2 separate regions of the Homo sapiens genome follow, and region 2 is linked to region 1. The links are contacts of gene promoters, found by promoter capture Hi-C in blood cells and fetal thymus (Javierre and others, 2016). All regions are on one chromosome and are shown on one strand. Each heading gives the region's core, a stretch centred on a gene start or on the middle of the fragment in contact. The rest is flanking DNA. Distances are from core to core; before and after follow the strand shown. Region 1 holds the start of ZNF282 (zinc finger protein 282). Region 2 overlaps LOC124901771 (a long non-coding RNA gene).

Region 1 (4,716 bases), core at 1,276-3,775:
AGAAAAGATAGTTGATAATCTACAGTGCAGAAGACGTGTTCTGAAATGTGGCTCGCTGGTGGAAATGAATTTGCCTAGAGCTTTTCAGACTTAACTTGCCTGGTTCCTCTAATAAAAGTGGACGTGATGTTTACAATCAGGGCCAGGAAGCAGGGAAGGAAATCACTGACTTCTGGGAGCATGGACTTTACTGGCCTATAAGCTCCTTGAGGATAATCTTAAGTCTGTGAATACTCATTTCTGTATCCTAGAAGTGTGCCTAGCAGAGAAAGTACTTGGTAACTGTTCTTCTGAATATGGCCTTCTAAGCACATGTCTCACGTAGGCCAATAATGTCCTTTATTTTATGAAGTGCAGTGGAACTTAAAGGTACTAGCAGGTCTGCTTCCACACAAGGTGATGAGCCTCAGAGATCTCTTCCTTAACAAGACAGGGACTGGTCCTTTAGGAAAACAAAGTAAATACTATTTTGAGAATAATTACAAAAACACCTTTTGGGGGTAACTATCTTTGCAGAATGCTCGCTATGTGCCAGGCACAATTCTCATTTAATTTTACAACATTAAAATAGAGTTGCCATTATTTTCTTCATTTATATATGAAGAGAATGAGGCTCAGAGAAGTTAAATAAGTTGCTCAAAGTCATAGCTAGTGAGTGGTGATTTTGGGATTTAAACTCAGGTGTATGCAACTGCAAAGCTCACCCTCTTCCTAAACAGTACCTGGCACACAGTAGGTGTTCAATAAATACATTTGGAATGACTGAATTTTCCCCTCCTCCATCTTCATCAGCTTATACTGGCCTCTCCCTGGCTCCTCCTCTGACCTGGCCTGATGTTTCAAAGTGACACTGACCTGCCTTTAAAGGGTTTTATTTGTAGAGAAGGGATCTCGCTGTGTCACCCAGGCTGGTCTTGAACTCCTGGCCTCAGCCTTGGCCTCCAAAGTGTTGGGATTACAGGTGTGAGCCACCATGACTGCCCGATTTAAAGGTTTATTTATTTATTTATTTGACACAGGATCTTTGCTATGCCGCCCAAGCTGGAGCACAACGGCACAATCACAGCTCACTGCAACCTCCAACTCCTGAGTTCAAGCAATCCTACAGCCTTAGCCTCCTGAGTAACTAGGAGTACAGGCATTAGCCATCATGCCCGGGTAATTTTTATTTTTTATTTTATTATTATTATTATTATTTTTTTTTGAGACGGAGTCTTGCTCTGTTGCCCAGGCTAGAGTGCAGTGGCGCGATCTCGGCTCACTGCAAGCTCCGCCTCCCGGGTTCACGCCATTCTCCTGCCTCAGCCTCCCGAGTAGCTGGGACTACAGGCGCCGCCACCACACCCGGCTAATTTTTTTGTATTTTTAGTAGAGACGGGGTTTCACCGTGTTAGCCAGGATGGTCTCGATCTCCTGACCTCGTGATCCGCCCGTCTTGGCCTCCCAAAGTGCTGGGATTACAGGCGTGAGCCACGGCGCCCGGCCTTATTATTATTTTTTGAGATGGAGTCTCGCTCTGTTGCCCAGGCTGGAGCGCACTGGCGCGATCTTGGCTCACTGCAACCTCCGCTTCGGAGGTTGAAGCGATTCTCCTGCCTCAGCCTCCCGAGTAGCTAGGATTATAGGCCCACGCCACCACGCCCGGCTAATCTTTTTGTATTTTTAGTAGAGACGGGGTTTCACCATGTTGGCCAGGCTGGTCTCGAACTCCTGACCTCAGGTGATCCGCCTGCCTCAGCCTCCCAATGTGCTGGGATTACAGATGTGAGCCACCGCGCTCGGCTAATTTTTATTTTTTATAGGGATGGGGTGTCAATATGTTGCTCAGTCTGGTCTCGAACTCCTGGGCTCAAGTCGTTCTCCTGCTTCAGCCTCTCAGAGTGCTGAGATTACAGGTGTGAGGCACCACGCCCAACCCAATTTCAAGGTGTTTGAAGAGGCCACTGTTAAAATGCACTGCACCTTACCTGGGAGAAAGAGCTCAGCCCTCTTTTGACACCTTAACATGAATCACTTCTCTATCATCCATAACAGTGCAAAAGCTCTGGGATGGGTCCAGGTAAATCTGGATTGGGAAGAAGGGGAGTGGGAGGTAAAGTCTGCAAAGGAGTGAGGGAAGGCAGAAGGCCAGAAGAAAGTGTCTGAAGACAGAATTACTCCTGCAAAATTTTCACAAGGGTCAGGCACTATTTTCTCCCGGGATGCCCAATACATTTGCAGAATTAACAGTAATCAAGCCCACAGTCCAGGTCCTCGCATAGTTTGGGCCTTTAAAGTCGGCCATCCCAGATTGAGGGGGCCTGACCCCTGGGCGAGGCCGCCGCCTCTCAGTTTTGGGGCGGTGGCGACCCCAGTCCGGGAGTGGCCCCGGTAGGTCCCCGCAGGCGGGCAGGAGCTCCGAGGCCATTGGCTGGCGCGCGGGCTGCCAAGGGGCGGGGAGCGCCGCCGAAGGGGACTGTTTGCTCCTACGGGCTGTAGATGGAGCTGTCCGGCCCCGGAGAGGGGGAAGGCGCCTGGAAAACGTTCTTCTTCTCCCTGGCCGACCCGAGCGGGGAACAGCACTCCCAGGATGCAGTTTGTGTCAACACGGCCGCAGCCTCAGCAGCTGGGCATCCAGGGCCTGGGGCTGGACAGCGGGAGCTGGAGCTGGGCCCAGGCTCTGCCCCCGGAGGAGGTCTGCCACCAGGAGCCGGCGCTGCGCGGGGAAATGGCCGAGGGAATGCCGCCCATGCAGGTGGGAGAACCCCGCCGGCGCCATGGCCGCGCTGCCGTGGGGGCGGGGCGCGGGCTGGGCCGCGGGACCGGGCCGCGCCGTCCTCCGGTAGCCTTGCGGCGCCCTCCCAGCTTCCGCGCCCAGGCGAGGCCCGAGGCGGGCGGGGCACGGCCGGGCTGCGCGGCGGGCAGGACGGAGCGGGCCCGACGCAGGCCCGGAAGGGCAGGCCTGGCCCGCGCGGCGCGGAGCAGCGGTCGCCGGGCCCAAGTGCGGAGGCCCCGCGGGGCGGGGGCCGGGACCGTCCTTTCCGGGACCTGGCAGAGCTCTGACCCTGTGGCTGAGCCCCGGCTTGGGGCTCCCTTTGCGCCCGGCCGGCGGAGAGCTTCGCGGGCAGTGCTTCCGCCCGGCCGCAGAAGTGAATGCCTCGTTCGTGTTTACACGGTGGCCAATTTGACGGGGATATTTTTTAAATGTTTGATTACCACCTTTCACCAAGTGTAATGAGTAATTCACTCTCCCCCTGCACCGGGTGTGATCCAGGGAGGGGGCCATGGAGAGATGACTTCGGGGTCTTTCCTGCGGTTGACAAACTTGGCCGCATGTTGGAATGGCCTGGGCAGCTTTTAAGACTCCTGAGCCCTTGCCTGGTCCCAGAGCTCAGGGTCTCTGACGGGTGAGAGTAGCACCAGGCATTTCTTCAGGCTCCATCGATGATCTCCGTGGGCAGAACCGGTGCTCCAGAATTGGGTATAAAACCAGGGGAGGTGGATCCTCAGAGAGGCCTGAAAGCTTGCCCAGGGAAGACTCTCTGGGCCCACCCTGGGGCTGGGCTGCTCAGGGGCCCCTCTGCTCACCACGCGGCTCTCAGCCAGGTGCTAACGAGGGAGCCAGGGGCTGCTGTGTTGTGTTTGATCATTTTCAGGGTTAGGGCTTCAAACCCGAGAAAACTAAACTGGGCCCCGGGACTTTCTTAACTTCTACTGTGGACTCTGTCCCCTTCTGTGGGCTAGGGCGGAGTGGAGCCTCTGTGATGGAGGAATGGGTGCTTTTGATGGAAACACCAGCACCTCTTACTGGTATTACAGGGCCTGGCGATCCTAGGGCCCTGCTCTCCACTCTGCTGTGTCCCGGAGCAGGTCTGCCCCGGAGCAGGGCTGCTCTTGAGTCAGAGAGTGGGGCTGGTCTGCCCAGATCGCCCCAAGCAGCAGGCCTCCCCTTTTCCTAGCCTGAGGGCCTTTTCTGCAGCCATCGGGAGGACAGAAAATGACACCTCTTCCTGTCCCAGGTGTGAAGGAGAGTCGGCTGCCAGCCCATGTGGTCCAGTGAGCCCTGAGTCTGACACCAGGTCCCAGATGACCAGTGAACTGTCACCAGCCTCAACCAGCCCCCCTTAGCCATAGGTCTCAGCTCTCAATTGCACCAATTAGTTTACCCTTCTGGGGTGAGGGCTCTGTGCTGGAAGATAAAAGGGGGAGTCCCCAGGCCATGGGGCACCCCTTCCCCAGGAAGCAAGGAGGGGTCCCAGAGGAGTTTTTCTTTCTCTTGGTCCTCTTGGGTGTGAGGGACATCCCCTCTTCACCTCTAATGAGTGACCTTTTTTAGTGAACCTATTTTCAATTTGGAAAATGTTTATGAAACAGTAGTTGTATATGGGGGGAAGCTGCTTTTCTGCCCTAGCTTGGGCTCTCCGGTCTTTTCCTTGACTGCAGCCCTGGTAGGAATGTGGTGGGTTTTTTTGTTGTTTATTTGTTTGTTCCGAGACGGAGTCTTGCTCTGTTGCCCAGGCTGGAGTGCAGTGGCACCATCTCGGCTCACTGCAACCTCCGCTTCCCAGGTTCAAGCGATTCTCCTGCCTCAGCCTCCCAAGTAGCTGGGATTACAGGAGCCCACCACCACACCCGGCTAATTTTTGTGTTTTTAGTAGAGACAGGGTTTCGCCATGTTGGCCAGGCTGGTCTTGAACTCCTGACCTCAAGTGAGCTGCCTGCCTTGGCCTCCCAAAG
Region 2 (4,716 bases), core at 1,620-4,119, 540 kb after region 1:
CACCAGTGCCGCCAGCACTCGGCGCATCCTCACCCTGGGCACAGATGCCCCCTCCCAGCCTTTGCCTGCTGGGACAGACCAGGGTATTCAGGACTGAGCCTGGTCTAGGTGGTCCAGACCCAGTTGGACCATATAATAAGTTTAAAGTTGTTTTAAGAATGTGGATTCTAAGTAATAAGTGGTAAGAAGTTCCATGGTCTGCAGCTGCGTTCCTCCTGCAGAAGCAGTTCCCTAGGTCTAGGTCTCCAGGACCTGTCCACAGTCACTGAAACGCCTTCTAGAATTGATCTAGTGGAAAATCTAGATGCAGTTTAGGTCTTTGGCACTGTGCCCATCTCCTTTAAGAACTGTGCAGTGTGGCTTGGAAGAGGAAATGTGGTCCCTTTGATGGGAGAAACTGAAGGACCTTTTTGAACTCAAAGGAGCTCCAGGGTTTGGAATTGGGGGCAGAGAAGGCTCCAGGCTGCTCATTCCATCCTGGGTGAGCCGAACGGGTCCTGGCTGATCTGAGTGCGACCTTCCCAGTCTGCCAGCCAGAGTCCCCCAGCAGGCAGGAACATGTGAAGGTTCCGCTTCAAAATATGAATGAATGGGCTCCTCGTGCCCCTATTATTTTCTGGCCACCCCCAGGGGTCCTGATGGAAGGGAGGCTGGCCTGCGGGGTGCAAGAACCACGATTCACTGCTCCCCGCTGAAGGTGCTTGGTCAAGAGCAGCAGGCATGCTGTTAACCTTTGTGCGGGTTTGTGTTTTGGATGTGGCTCCTATGCACAACCTATGGATTTTATCTCATAAACCATCTTGACAGATTTTGCTCGTCAACTGGGAGCCCTTAATCCATTTAAATGTAATTGACTGACTGATTTATTGAGGCTTTAACAGACTTTCTTACTTTGTGCTTTTTGTTTGTCCCACCTCTTCCGAGGGGGCTTCTCTTCCCTGCCTTATTTTGTATTAACACTGTTGTGGGTTAAAAAAAAAATCCATTTTTTCCTCTGCTGGCCTCAAAATGTAAAGAACTAAAAGGAGAAACACCCAAATTCACAATCATATTTGGGAGGTTTTAGCATATCTTTCTCTGAAAATGATGGAACAAATTGGGAGGGATGTAGAAGATTCGAACAAACTCCTTAACAAAATTGGCCTGATTGAGGCCCGTATAGGACAGTACACCATGGGGCCGGGTGCGGTGGCTCACACATGTAATCCCAGCACTTTGGGAGGCCGAGGCGGATGGATCACTTGAGGCCAGGAGTTCCAGACCAGCCTGGCCAACACAGTGAAACTCTGTCTCTACAAAAAATACAAAAATTAGCTGGGCATGGTAGCATGCACCTGTAATCCCAGCTACTTGGGAGGCTGAGACACGAGAATCGCTTGAACCCGGGAGGCAGAGGTTGCAGTGAGCTGAGATCATGCAACTGCACTGCAGCCTGTGTAAAGAGTGAAACTCCATCTCAAACAAGCAAACAAAAACTGTGTGCCATGGGACTGCTTAATATACATTCTCTTCAAGCATACACAGGACATTTACAAAAATTGACCATATATTAAGCCCTACAGTAAGTGTAAATAAATTTAAAATATTGAAATTATATAGGGTATGTTCTCTGACAATACTTTTACCTTTTAAGCTAGAATTAAATAATAACCAGAAATTCTTATATATTCAAAAATGAGAATTATGCTGCTAAAATAACCCATGTGTCAATGAAGAAATCATAATGGAAATTAAAAATGTTTCCCACCATGAAGGAAGTACCACAGGCCAGGTGTGGTGGCTCACGGCTGTTGTCCCAAAACTTTGGGAGGCTGAGGCAGGCAGATCACTTGAGTCCAGGAGTTCGAGACTAGCCCGGGCAACATGGTAAAACCCCATCTCTACTTAAAAAAAAAAAAAAAAAAAATATATATATATATATATATATATATATATATACACATACATACACATACACACAAACACACACACACACACACACACAGACAAAAATTAGCCAGGTGTGGTGGCATGTGCCTTTAGTCACAGCTACACAGGAGGCTGAGGTGGGAGAATCACTTGAGCCTAGGAGGTGGAGGTTGCAGTGAGCCGAGATCGTGCCACTGCACTCCAGCCTGGGTGACAGAGTGAAACCCCGTCTCAAAAAAAAGAAAACAAGGAAGGAAGGAGAGGAGAGGAAAGGAAAGGAACCATATCAAAATGTGTAGCATAAAGCAATATCAGTACTTAGAAATGTATAGACATAAGTGAGTATGTGGAAAAGGAAGGACAGAATTCACAAGGAGAAACAGAACAGCAAAGGAAATCCAAAGAAAAGTTAAAAAGGGCACACAAATATAAGAGCAGAAATTACTGAAATAGCATACATATAAATGATATAATCAACAAAGCCAAAAATCATTTCTTTACAAAGCTAATAACATTGACTACTAGCCTGTGATGAAATCATCAATGAAAAAAGAAAGCACAAATAACCAGTCTCAGAATGAAAAAGGTGACATTACTGCAGATGCCGCAGGCTATAGAAAGACAATAAGATGATATTATAAGCAACTTTTTGCCAAAAGTTTGAAAATTCAATGAAAATAACTCCCATAAGAATGCAACTTAGACTCAAAAACAAAACAAAACAAAACCTGAATAGTCCCATACCATTGAAAAAAAAATGCATTAGTGATCAAACATCTTACAAAAGAAACTGTAGGGCCAGGTACTGTGGCTCAGGCCTGTAATCCCAGCACTTTGGGAGGCCAAGGCAGGCAGATGGCCTGAGGTCAGAAGTTCAAGACCGTCCTGGGCAACATGATGAAACCCTGTCTCTACTAAAAAATACAAAAAATTAGCCAGGTGTGGTGGCGTACGCCTGTAATCCCAGCTACCTGGGAGGCTGAGGCAGGATAACCACTTGAACCCGGGAGGTGGAGGTTGCAGTGAGCCAAGATCACGTCCCTGCACTCCAGCCTGGGCAACAAGAGAAAACTCCATCTAAAAAAGAAAAAAGAAAAGAAACTGTAGGCCCAAAAGGCCTCACTAGTAAGTTCTATCTCACATTTAAAAAGGAAATTATTTCAATAATATACAAACTATTCCAGAGAATGGAAAAATATGGGACACTCTCTGACTCGTTTTACGAGACTGGCATAATCTTGAAATTTCCAAAACTTGAGGACAGTACAAGAGAACAAAATTACAGGCTAATCTCAAAAAATGTACATAGGAAAAATACTCAACAAAATATTAGCCAAAGAGAATCTAGCAATACACAAAATGTTTTACTGAGTAAAACATCATTACCCAGTTGGCTTCATCTTGTCGATCAAGAATGGTTTCAACGTTTGAAAATCACCAGTGGTAACCCACAATAATAGATTAAAGGGGAAAAGTCACATGATCATCTCAATAGCTGCAGAAAGATCACTTGATAAGAGCCAGCACCCATCAATATTCCAAGTGAACTGGGATGAGAAAGGAAATTTCTTAATTTGATGAGGATTATATACCAAAAAAAAGATGATAGCTGTATTAGCCTATTTTCATGGTGCTAATAAAGACAGACCCAAGACTGAGTAATTTATAAAGAAAAGAGGTTTAATGGACTCACAGTTCCACGTGGCTGAGGAGGCCTCACAATCATGGCGGAAGGTGAAGAAGGAACAAAGGCATGTCTTACATGGTGGCAGGCAAGAGACTGTAGGGGAACTGCCCTCTGTAAAACCATCAGATCTCATGAGACTTATTCACTATCATGAGAAAAGCAAGGGAAAAACCCACCCCCATGATTCAGTTACCTCCAACTGAGTCCCTTCCATAATGTGGGGATTATGGGAGCTACAATTCAAGATGAGATTTGGGTGGGGACACAGCCAAACCATATCAATAGCTAATATGCTTAATGGTGACATATTGAAGTGTTAAAAACCAGTATACCAAAACTAAGTTATATTTACATATACCCACAGCCAACAGTTAGAAAGTATTACTTTAAAGATTTTATTTGTAGTAACAAAAAACTCAAGAGCCCAGGAATCAATCTAAAAAAGATTTATGTGGAGAGAACTATTGAGCACTTTTTGTGATTTCCTTGAAGCACAGAAATTAAGAAACTTGCTCAAAGCTACACAGTTGCTAGGTGAGTTTGAGCTGGGATTCTCTGGCTTCAGAGCTAAGGAAGGCCCCAAAACATGCAGGGCGAGAGGCACACTGAACTCTGGACCTTCACATTAGATTCGTCAGTGTCTGAGGCAAATCAGGGAGGAAGAAATAGATTGTTATAAAAATTAGTAATCTGCAGCATCTATTTGTGTGTTACTTTGTTGAATGTCTGCCCCCCACACCCACCAGCCCCCAACTGTAAGCTCTGTGGATGAGGCAAATACATATGGTATATCTGGCATCAACACTGGATCAGCTACATAGTGGGGGTTCAATAAACCTGGATTGAATCTCTGAATAACACTCTTTTTTGGGTTTAAGACAGAGAGTGGGCTGGGCGCGGTGGGTCACACCTGTAATCTCAGCACTTTGGAAGGCTGAGGTGGGTGGATCACTTGAGGCCAGGATCGAGAGCAGCCTGGCCAACATGGTGAAACCCCATCTCTACTAAAAATACAAAAAATTAGCTGGGCATGGTGGTGTGCATCTGTAATCCCAGCTACTTGGGAGATTGAGGCAGGAGAATCGCTTGAACCTAGGAGGTGGAGGTTGCAGCAAGCTGTG

The links. Contacts are between HindIII fragments. The CHiCAGO score rates a contact against its expected background, and 5 or more counts as called.
Region 2: a fragment that was not itself captured here is called in contact with the fragment with the promoter of ZNF282 in region 1 in 1 of 17 cell types (neutrophils); the score reaches 5.7 in neutrophils.

The regions. Positions count from the first base shown.
Region 1 is chr7:149,193,021-149,197,736 of GRCh38, forward strand. It overlaps ZNF282 (zinc finger protein 282), which reads left to right and starts at 2,526. Exons shown (of 8, transcript NM_003575.4): 1 at 2,526-2,734. The coding sequence starts at 2,570. RefSeq lists silencers at 2,194-2,483, 2,302-2,623, 2,744-3,103 and an enhancer at 3,544-3,593. The HindIII fragment of the contact is 5,667 bases long and covers 1-3,500 here.
Region 2 is chr7:149,736,307-149,741,022 of GRCh38, forward strand. LOC124901771 (a long non-coding RNA gene) reads right to left here. Exons shown (of 2, transcript XR_007060585.1): 2 at 3,568-3,706. Among named protein-coding and RNA genes, the nearest start is that of KRABD3, 24 kb to the left of the region's middle. The HindIII fragment of the contact is 9,706 bases long and covers 1-4,716 here.